Regions from separate parts of the Homo sapiens genome. Here regions 2, 3 and 4 are each linked to region 1. Evidence: promoter capture Hi-C in 16 types of primary human blood cells and fetal thymus (Javierre and others, 2016). All regions are on one chromosome and are shown on one strand. Each heading gives the region's core, a stretch centred on a gene start or on the middle of the fragment in contact. The rest is flanking DNA. Distances are from core to core; before and after follow the strand shown. Region 1 holds the start of NCOA7-AS1 (NCOA7 antisense RNA 1). Region 2 overlaps TPD52L1 (TPD52 like 1). Region 3 overlaps TPD52L1 (TPD52 like 1). Region 4 has its middle 36 kb from the start of HDDC2.

The links. Contacts are between HindIII fragments. The CHiCAGO score rates a contact against its expected background, and 5 or more counts as called.
Region 2: a contact is called between a fragment that was not itself captured here and the fragment with the promoter of NCOA7-AS1 in region 1, in 3 of 17 cell types (M2 macrophages, M0 macrophages and M1 macrophages). The highest score is 7.2, in M2 macrophages.
Region 3: a fragment that was not itself captured here is called in contact with the fragment with the promoter of NCOA7-AS1 in region 1 in 4 of 17 cell types (M1 macrophages, M2 macrophages, M0 macrophages and 1 more); the score reaches 13.8 in M1 macrophages.
Region 4: a contact is called between a fragment that was not itself captured here and the fragment with the promoter of NCOA7-AS1 in region 1, in 7 of 17 cell types (fetal thymus, M1 macrophages, naive CD8 T cells and 4 more). The highest score is 5.8, in fetal thymus.

The regions. Positions count from the first base shown.
Region 1 is chr6:125,817,576-125,820,158 of GRCh38, reverse strand. It overlaps NCOA7-AS1 (NCOA7 antisense RNA 1), which reads left to right and starts at 1,301. Exons shown (of 3, transcript NR_126386.1): 1 at 1,301-1,349. The region is part of intron 2 of NCOA7 (nuclear receptor coactivator 7); the gene reads right to left. RefSeq lists an enhancer at 1,575-2,076. The HindIII fragment of the contact is 4,548 bases long and covers 1-2,583 here.
Region 2 is chr6:125,164,429-125,167,011 of GRCh38, reverse strand. The region is part of intron 1 of TPD52L1 (TPD52 like 1); the gene reads right to left. Among named protein-coding and RNA genes, the nearest start is that of TPD52L1, 12 kb to the right of the region's middle. The HindIII fragment of the contact is 679 bases long and covers 965-1,643 here.
Region 3 is chr6:125,195,019-125,197,601 of GRCh38, reverse strand. The region is part of intron 1 of TPD52L1 (TPD52 like 1); the gene reads right to left. All of the region lies in intron 1 of LOC100126584 (a long non-coding RNA gene), which reads left to right. Among named protein-coding and RNA genes, the nearest start is that of TPD52L1, 43 kb to the right of the region's middle. The HindIII fragment of the contact is 188 bases long and covers 1,211-1,398 here.
Region 4 is chr6:125,264,674-125,267,256 of GRCh38, reverse strand. No RefSeq gene overlaps it. Among named protein-coding and RNA genes, the nearest start is that of HDDC2, 36 kb to the left of the region's middle. The HindIII fragment of the contact is 1,857 bases long and covers 362-2,218 here.

The sequences.
Region 1 (2,583 bases), core at 52-2,551:
GGCTCCTACTGCTGCTCTGAAAGGCTGGGTTAAGAGGAAAGCGGAGGTGGGAGCAGCAGTTCTGCTTTTCATGACAACCAGGGAATAGGGGAGGTGGGAGCCAACAAGGGACCTACATGAACACCCAGTCTGTGTCTTCGTCTATATTACTCACTGTTTACTCCCAGGCTCTCACACCTTATCAGAGGGGAAAAGTAAACCTCCCACAAAACACCATTTGGTTCAACTACAGATGTATTTTGGATATCTTCAATCAACGCTTGATCCTGAAAAAATGCTTTCAAAGAATCTTCAACCAATGGCATACAAGGACCTACTCGGAAATCACAAAAGCCAAATAATGTCAAGCAAGTGTGTAAGAAGACAGCCCTGTATGGCAATACTAAAGAAAATTTTGCATTCTAACTACAAGGGGAAGGAAGAGTCAGCAGGGGTGTAACAAATGACACATGATAGTCACCCCAGAGGATAGCATAAATTGTACACAGTACAAATAGTACAGAAAGTATAATTTGCTTTAGTAATTCAGTTTTTCATTTGGTTTTCAAGACCTGTCAGGGATCAAGAAATTAATATAGACATATACTAATTTTGCATATATAAATTATTTGCAAAACCATTTGTGAAAAAGTTTCACAAATCATTCAATCTAGATTTAACAACTGTTATAAAACTATCCTGAAGCACCTGAAAACCAGTTGGACCAGGGTCAGAAAATCCAAAAAATTCATCAGGTCTTATCCAGAATTACTCTATCTAGTAGCAGTATTAATCCACCCCTCTATTTAGAGTTACACAGGCATATTTCAAGATAAATTATAAGAAAGGAAAGACTGGGTGACCCTCAAATCACTAATTTCAATCCAAAATTATTAAAATAGGGTATTTTAAACTCTATTTTGATGTTAAAGAGCGAAACGTCAACAAAACAGGTTTGGCAAAGGACTATTTATCAAACACAGTCACACAACGATTATGAAACCACATGATAAGATAGCACACAAAGAAAACATTGGCTATTTAACTACTCAGGAGGAAAAACTAGGTGTTCCTAGTTTTTCCTAGGTGGAAGGGGGAAGCAGGCTAAAAAGCAGTTTTTAGGGTTTCAGATATGTAATTGTGGCAGCAGGCACAGCATCAGGGTAAATCTTCCTTTTGACTTCCTCAGAACACCAGTTGAGATTTATGTAAGGTGGTATAATTTAGTTTAGAGAAAACTGAGATTGCATCAGTTTGGCCTCACCCTTGGCCTGACATTTTATCCTTCTCTCCAGAGATCTTGCTTGGACTGCCCTTAAGTACGCTGCTCCAGAGAACTCTGCTCTACATTGTCAGAAACCAGCTTTCAAGTAAGTTCTGTTGCTAGTTCCACATGGTAATTCCACAGTTAAGTCAGAAGGCATTTGAAAAGATGTATAACTTTGGATGGCTCTTTTCTGATTATAGGCTGAAGGGGGTTCTTTTCTCTTTGGTTTGCCTTTTGCTTTTAATAGCTTGACCATTTCTGGCTTCCACTGCATTGTAAGAGCTAAACTACAGGTTTGTCAGTCAGTGTTTCTCTCTCTGTCTCTTTCTCTCTCTCCCTGCTCCTACCCCCTCTTCTCTCCATTCTCCTCTCTCCATCTCTCTCATTTCCTAGTTACAAATCATGTTGTCTTACTGTCTTAAGAGCATCACTGATTTCATCCTTGTGCCACTGTCCCTATGCTCCCAAGATCACATTTCAGCATTTTAGGATACGTTTTTTGTTTCATTTTTAGAATACTTTTCAGAAGAGGTCATGATAAGCAAGACAATTTTACATTTCTGAGTTGAAAAAACTGTGCTGCTCTTCCAGAACAGTTTTGGTTTGTATTCTCAGTTTCAGGGGCTCCCCTGACTCTACATTTTAGGAACAAGAAGAGGTTAACATTGAGCAGGTTGTTCATGAACCGGCAGTTACCTTTACTACAGGAATCACTTTGGATTCAGGCTGAGAAGGCACTATAGCTCTTAAAATCACTATGTAGGGCAAGTGAAGAAGAAAGAAAAGAAAGAAGAAGAAAGTAAGGAGGAGGAGGAAGGAGGAGGTGGGAGAAAGAAGGAAGGGGGAGAAGCGGGAAGGGGGAGGAGGAAGAAGAGGAGGAAGAGGAGCAGGAAGAGGAGCAGGAAGAAAGGGAGGAGGTGAGGAAGGGAGACGGGGAGGAAGGGGAGGAGAAGCATGACCACCATTTTGACCTAAACTCATATCTTATCCACAAATAAATTCAAAATGGATCACAGACTTAAATATAAAACATAATGCTATAAAATTTTCAGAAAAGAAAAACAGGAGAGAATCTTCAGAACATACAGCTAGGCAAAGAGATCTTAGAATTCAGACCAAAAGCACAATTCATAAAAGGAGAAACTGATAAATTGAACCACATCAAAATTAAAACCTTTTGCTCTGCAACTCTGTTAACTGGATGAAAAGACAAACTACAGTCCGGGAGAAAATATTTGCAAATCACATATCCAACAAAAGACTAGAATGTGTACAATTCAACAGTAAAAACCTAAACAATTCAATTAGAAAATGGGCAAAAGATAGGAAAGGAGATG
Region 2 (2,583 bases), core at 55-2,554, 650 kb after region 1:
GTGCTGGAATTACAGGCATGAGCCACCCTACCCAGCCCATAAGAGTTATTTTGAGCTGAAGGCATTTGAGTTCCCGAAATCCTTTATCTGACTAAAAGCAGAGGTTCCCAAAAGAACTCAGCTGTCACAAATTCCTCCCACTGGGAGCAACTCTTTCTTCTCTTCTAGACATTGTCACAAACTGTCATATCTCCCATCTATTCTCCTAAGGACCCATTTATCTTTTTTTTTTTTTTTTAAAGAAGTCATTTGCTCTCTCAATATTGCCTTTTCTCCACCTCCCTTTCCTGTAGTAAAATGATACAGAAAATCAAATCTCATCACTCCTTGGGGTATTCATTTCTTTCTATGACACCCTTGTGCAAGCAAAATTTAAAATAAATAACTTTGTAAGCTTTTTCTCCTGCTAGTCTGTCTGCTGTAAGTTTAATTCACAGGCTCCTAGGCACTTCACCTAAGAGGGTAGAAAAAAAGTTTTTCTTCCCCTCCAATGCTTATGAGAGCCTTCCAATCATTTTAAATAAACTTTACAGGTAGTGCAGGTATCTTGTAACTTCCTGTTGGAACCCTGGGATATCTAAAGAGGAATAACAGGAGCCAAGGTCTATACTTCTTCCCAGGGCTGACCTAACCCTTCAGGAAGAAAAACCATCTTTCCATGACGTCTTTATGTAGAAATGAGTCCATTTTGGAAAACAAAATGTTGGAAAATATTTATAGACAATGAGCTATTAGCTCTTTATGCAGAGAGAAAAATCAGTGAAAAACTACAAATATCCAACCATCAGAGACTTTAAAACTGAGAGATCTGAAGAGATCTCCTCCCACTACCCCCATCCCAAATTGGCTTTTTCTTTTGAATGAATCAGTTCTGCTTCCGTGAATATGCTTGGGAGATGGTTAAATGAATAAAACATATCCATGTAAACAAGTAATTATAATACTCATGAGGCAATAAAAAGCTTTCTTTTTTTGGGTACTCATTGAAATTAGTCCTTTCAGCCAACATCTAAAGGATACAAATCCTACTTTCTGGAAACAAGCACGCAGATCCTATGACTTATTTATTTTAAAATACTGAGATTACTGGGTATGGACGAACACCAAGTAGAATAACATATTTGAACCATTCCATATTTGAACTGACTTTTCCTAGCAGCTGGTGATAAAACTCTATACTGGTTCTAAGAATTACATCTCATGTGACTTTTACGGATCTTTTTAATCTTGAATCAGTTCTGCTTCCATGATCCTTGACAAGACGCTCTTGCTATTAATGGACAAAAGAAATGTCTAATTATAAGAAAAATGTATTTCCAAGGAGTTGAAGAGTTTTCCATATTTTAGATATATGTCAGGGAAACTGTAATTTGTATAAGATACAAATAACCATAGGTAAGTTTGGAGATGAGGTGTAACATATACATGCATTTTTCATGTGTGGTACATGATCTGGCTACAGCAAAGTGCTAGATTTTTGCCTTTTGAGAAAGAAGCAATATGTTGGTGACTAAGGGTATTCTTGGAGATTTGTGGTTTTATTCTGGGAACTTCACTTCCTCTGCATCAAAATGCATCACTTATAAACGATTCACACTGTGAGAAATTGCTTAAAATTCATCTTTCCTTGAGGACCCAAAGCTTCCTTTTAGCCATTTCAAATTCATTAAAATATTCTCCTGCCTTCCCTGGTACATTAACAATGCTTCTCAATTTAATGCATATATTTCAAATCATTACACTTTATTGCTTAAATATTCAATGAAAAGTAGGATGACAGATGTGAATATCCACATTTTGAGGTCACCTTTTATGTGTTCTTAACTGTGTAGTAACTCAGTAAATTTTTTCTTGTTTTACTTTTTTCTTTTAGTTTTATATATGTATACAAAACTATATATATACAGTTAAAATATATATATATATCTTTTTTTTAAGAGACAGGGGTTTTGCTTAGCCTGGGTTTGAACTCTGGAGCTCAAGTGGTCCCACTGCCTCAGCACCTTGATTAGCTGGGACTATAAGCACTCACCACCATGATCAGCTTAACTCAGTAAATTGAAGAAGTGACTGGCTTTACGGTGTTGTTGGGGACATTTCGCAACAGAAGTAATGGTGAACCTCTGCCTGCATGGAGAGCATGCCAGCTGATCAATGACTGAGGCAGATGCCCTCTTTTCTGCAGTTGCTGCTTCAAACCGTGAAAATTCAACACAGAGATGGCTAGAGTCGCTTAAGGACAAATCCATTGATGGCTCATTTTTTTCAACAGTTTTACTAGGTATTTTCTTAAAGTAGTTATTCTGCTAGTATGGTTGGGAGATGGTTAAATGAATAAAACATATTCGTGTAAACAAGTAATTATAATGTTCATGAGGCAATAAAATGCTTTCTTTTTTGGGGTACTCATTGAAATTAGCCCTTTCAGCCAGCATCTAAAGAATACAGATTCTACTTTCTGGAAAGAAGCATGCAGAGCCTGTGACTTTTATTTATTTTAAAGTCCTGAGATGACTGAATATGGATGAACACCAAGTGGAATAACATATCTGAACAGACTTTTGTTTGAGCTGGTGATAAAAT
Region 3 (2,583 bases), core at 55-2,554, 620 kb after region 1:
GTTCTTCCTCTTAGAGTTCTAAACTCTGCACTTTTCAAAAGAGTCTGTTCTTTTGGGCCTAGCAAGCAGAAAGAGGAGAGTGTCTCTTGATCTGGGGGCAAACATTTCCCTAAAATTCTCCTGGTAGAAAAAGAACTCAAAATAGAAGTGAAAATGAGTTGCCGAAAAATAAGAAAAGTTATATTTCTTGCCCTTCTGAGTTTGTGAACTCACTGGATACCTGCTTGATATTGAACTAGATATGTGGTGGATATGTGCAGATTAGAACTATTAAATTAGATTATAGAGAGAACAGACCTACCAAGATGAAAACGTAAAATCATTCAAGGGATTGGAAGGTCAACATGATAACACATAAAACAGATTTTCATCTGGAAAAGGGACATCTCTAGAGACTGTTCATACAAGGAGGCTTATTCAAAGAGAAAGGACAGCCAGCTCTTTTCTCAGCAAGCAAGAAGGCTGGGCTAAAATTTCAGCAAGCATGATTATGAGTCTGTTTTAGGGGATACTTTCAGGTTATAAATTAAATGTAGCTCTCCGTGGTATAGAAAAGCTTGGGAAAAATCTTTTCTGACAACCCCAGTGGGAGATTCAGGACATGATTATTCTGATGAAAGGCACAGATCCGGCCAGATGTCTCTGAGTAGTTTTTCTTTTATTTTCTTTTTCTTCCTGCCTAATGATCTAGGAATATGACTACACTTTTGATACTATGGGAGAGGAATTCCAATGCTGGATCTGCAACTAATTGGCTCTGAGCAAGATTCTTATTCACGCTCACCTCCATACCTCATGTATAAATAAGGGTGACAGCATGTCATACTTATAAGTCCGTAGACACCATGGTGATGAGTGAGGTGGAGAGTCTAAGAATAGTCTGATATCAAATACAGGGATGTGAGGAAAAAAGAAAGTTCTATTTTCAAGGAAATTTGCTACACAGTTTGAACAGAATCTGATAAACACCAAAGTATATATTACAGATAAAATAAGCATTTCTTTGCAAGTTATTAAATGTCATGTGCTTTATATAAGCTAACAGAAAACATAATTCAATAACTTTTTAATGTAGTCCATGTCTTAAAAATAATTTGGCGATCATTGGTCTTGCGTTGAGACAGGAGCCACGACAATAATTATTTAGACTTTTTTGCATTTGCAGGGCACATGCCAAAAGTTGTTTATACATTACAACTATAGTTAAGCTTTTACATTAATGAAGCAGTAATTAAAACTTTGGAACTGCCCCAGGTGTTTCTGTGGCTAATGTAAGCTCATGCTTGATCTTATTTTCTCTCTGTGGCAGTCACAAGGCTTAAGGATATGGGATGAGAGTTTAAAAGAAAATATAAACAATTTTAAAAACAGCTACAACTTTGGAAGCTACAGAAAGCTTATCTTTCCTTGTTTTCCTGAGTCTTTGATGATTAATACATTTAGAGCCAAATTTAAGGGCATCACTCAAGTCCTACTGAATTAGAATCTTTGAGGTTAACCTTGCACATCTGTGTTTTGTTAATCCCCACTGGTGACACTGATGGGCAGCCAATGTCAAAACCCACTGATTTTAAATAATATAGTATGATGTAAGGGGCATTACTGTGAGCTCAGCACTATTCTAGGTCCTGGAGATACAATGATTATCAGAGCAGACAGGGCCTCTGCTCTCCTGAAGCTTAAGAGATGCATATGATGAGCAAGTGGGCAACAACTGGCCTGGCTGTGATAGCGCGAACAGGGCACTGTGATGGAGTGACTGGAGACAGGCTTTGTCACCATGCAAAACCAACAATGGTCTGAGAAGTTGCAGAAAGCCTCTCTAAGATGGGTCAGTGCACTTGGCCTTAAGAAGGAGTTGCTATGTGACATTCCAGAATAAAAGAGATTTCCAGGGAGAGGTAACAGCTAGGTCAGATGCCCTAAGGGTAAAACCTGCTTGGTACCTCAAAGGATCAAAAAGATGCCTGTTGACTGGACCAAGACAACAATGCAATTTGTTCAGTATCATCAGAGAATTTCACGTAAGTGCCTTTTCCATAGATCTAAAATTTACTTAATCTTATACCACTCAAAAATTTACTCATTTTATATAAAACCTTTCTCTCATGGATGGGTGACACAAAATGCAGAAGACATGCTTCTTACTCTCAAAGGACTTAGCGGTCCACAATGTACCCAGTGTGAAAATAAATATGATTTAAAACCTGTTGGAACCCTGAAGACACTTTAAGCCTTGAGAGAGATGTGATTGTGATCTGAGCCACACAGGGTTGTGACTTCTGTTTCTCAGATTATAGAACAACTTGTTTCTTATTGTTCTTGTTCTGTACAGTGACTAGAGAGACTCAAACAACAACAGGGACAAAAACCTGCTGCCATCTTAATGACCCTTGTTACAGATTAACTTCCCCTTTCTTGTCCTGCTTTGCTTAGGCCAGTTGACAGAAAACCCATAACCACTATACCCTCTGTAACAAATGTTATATGTATCCTTCCCAAAAAGAAACACAGCCTATACAACCAATCAAATTGCTGCAATTGTGTGCCAACTTTGTCAGAAAAATGTTGTAATCCTGCTAA
Region 4 (2,583 bases), core at 41-2,540, 550 kb after region 1:
CATTTTTGGTTTGCTTTAATTTATATATATATATAATGGATGGATATGTATTATATATATTATATATATAATGTGTGTGTACATGAATATACCCTCTGGTGTGAACTGAAAGTCAAGCAGAAATGTAGCATAAAGAATTTTACCATGCTTAGAAGTTATCAAAAGTAGCCATAAGATTTTGCCAAATATTGTTATAGTTTGAAATTACATTTGAATGCTAGGTTTGAAGAAGTTGTTTCACATTTCATATTAAGTCACTTTTCAACCTTACCACCATCTTCCTTTATCACACTACTTCCACTCAAATTGAATACTAAGTGAGAGGAGGACGATGGGGTTGATGTTGAACAACTTTAAAGCTTACACGTAATTTTGGAACAATGAACAGTGACAGAAGAGCCGTGTAGATCCCTGGGTTCCCTCTACACTGGCCACTGTGAACGGCATGGCATATCATGAAGACACATCCTAAAGCATGCACTTTGTTCTGTTTGCTATGGTTCAAGAACAGATTTCTAACAAAATGTGTAATTTAGAGTAAGATATGCAGATTGCATTGCTAAAATGACCTGCCAATAGTTGTAATCTTTTTTTGAGACAGGGTCTCATCTCTCTGTCACCCAGGCTGGAAGGCAGTGGCAAGATCTCGGCTCACTGCAGCCTCTGCCTCCCTGGTTCGAGAGATTCTCCCACCTCAGCCTCCCAAGTAGCTGGGATTACAGGGATGTGCCATCAAGCACAGCTAATTTTTGCATTTTTAGTAAAGACGGGGTTTCACCGTGTTGGCCAGGCTGGTCTCGAACTCCTGACCTCAGTTGATCCACCCACCTTGGCCTCCCAAAGTTCTGGGATTACAGGCATGAGCCACCATGCCCAGCCAATAGTTGTAATCTTTATGTGATGTGAGTTGTGAGATAAAGTAGCACTGTAAATTTACAAATATGTTCATCATAGCAACTGTGTTTAAAATGTGGTAAATCGTTAAATTTCAGAATGGCTTACTTTTTTTAAAAGCTAGTTTGTTTTGTAATCACAATTGCATCAGAATTTTTGATAATTGAAAGAATTGACGCCTGAGCCACTCGGGGATTAGGCCTGCACAGTCAAAAATCCGATTCTAGGTTGGGAGTTGTGGCTCACGCCTGTAATCCCAACACTTTGGGAGGCCAGGGCAGGTGGATCACAAGGTCAGGAGTTCAAGACCAGCCTGGCCAAGATGGTAAAATCCTGTCTCTACTAAAAATACAAAAATTAGCCAGGCGTGGTGGTAGGTGCCTGTAATCCCAGCTACTCGGGAGGCTGAGGCAGAGAATTGCTTGAACCCAGGAGGCAGAGGTTGCAGTGAGCCAAGATTGCACCACTGCACTCCAACCTGGGCAACAGGGTGAGACTCAGTCTCAAAAAAATAAATAAATAAATAAAACAAAAATCTGATTCTAACTTTGGACACCCCCTAAACCTAACTACCAACAGCTACTGTTGACCATAAGCCTTGTTGATAACATAAATGGCCAATTAACACATATTTTTATGTTATATGCATTACATGTGGTATTCTTACAATAAAGTAAGCTCTGGAAACAAAATGTTAAAAGAAAAACAACAGAGATAATATATGTACTATTCATTAAGTGGAAGCAGATGATGATAAAGGTCTTTATCCTCATTGTCTTCATGTTGAGTAGGCTGCAGAAGGGGAGAGGTTGGTATCACTGTTTCAAGGGGTGCCAGAGGCAGAAGAAAATCTGCACATAAGTGGACCCTCACAGTTCAAACTCCTGTTGTTCAAGGGTCAACTGTACATTTTCTGTGGAGGTATCCTTTCATACACACATGGTGTTGACCTGAAGTCATTTTGGTTTGTTAGTAAAAGGTTATGTCCATTGTGTGCAATTACTTTTTAGGACTTGTGAAACACTTTAAACTACTGCTTGTGAACTGAGCCTCACTAGATGTAATTGAGAAGCTCAGCAATCAGTCCCATCAGGATGATCTTGCACACCCATGGTGAGGGAGGACCAGGCAGCTCTTAGTGATGCTCCTGAAGCTAAGAGTAGGCTCACTGCCTAAACTAGGTAAGACTGCCCACCTACCAACAAGTGTTTGATTTATCTAATCTGAGTTATTCACACACATTTTATGACAAAAATAAAAAATGCTACTTATGCCATGGCCATTATGAATATCACTTCTAGGTCAGAGTGAATAATGAAAAGCTTTTAGATGAATAGAGATGATGTGCATAAGATTCTTACCAAACTAATGAAATCAGAATTTTGATGAATGGAATAAAATAAATAGCTAAAATGTGTTGGAAGCTTTAAGATATTACCACAAGTTTTCTTGATTGTTTTTCTATCCAATTCTAATATTGTGTTTTCAGATTATAAGGCTGAGACTATGGTGTGCAGAAATTGGTTGGTGAACGGAGATATTTGTTTAAAGTACCATAACTTTATCTAATACAATGCGGTGTGCTGAATATGGTAAAAAAAGAAGGTGGCAGGGAGTTTTCACAAGTTAGCCACTTCACACTCAACAGGCAGCTATAGATTGGGCACAGAGACTGAGTACTTGTGTGCT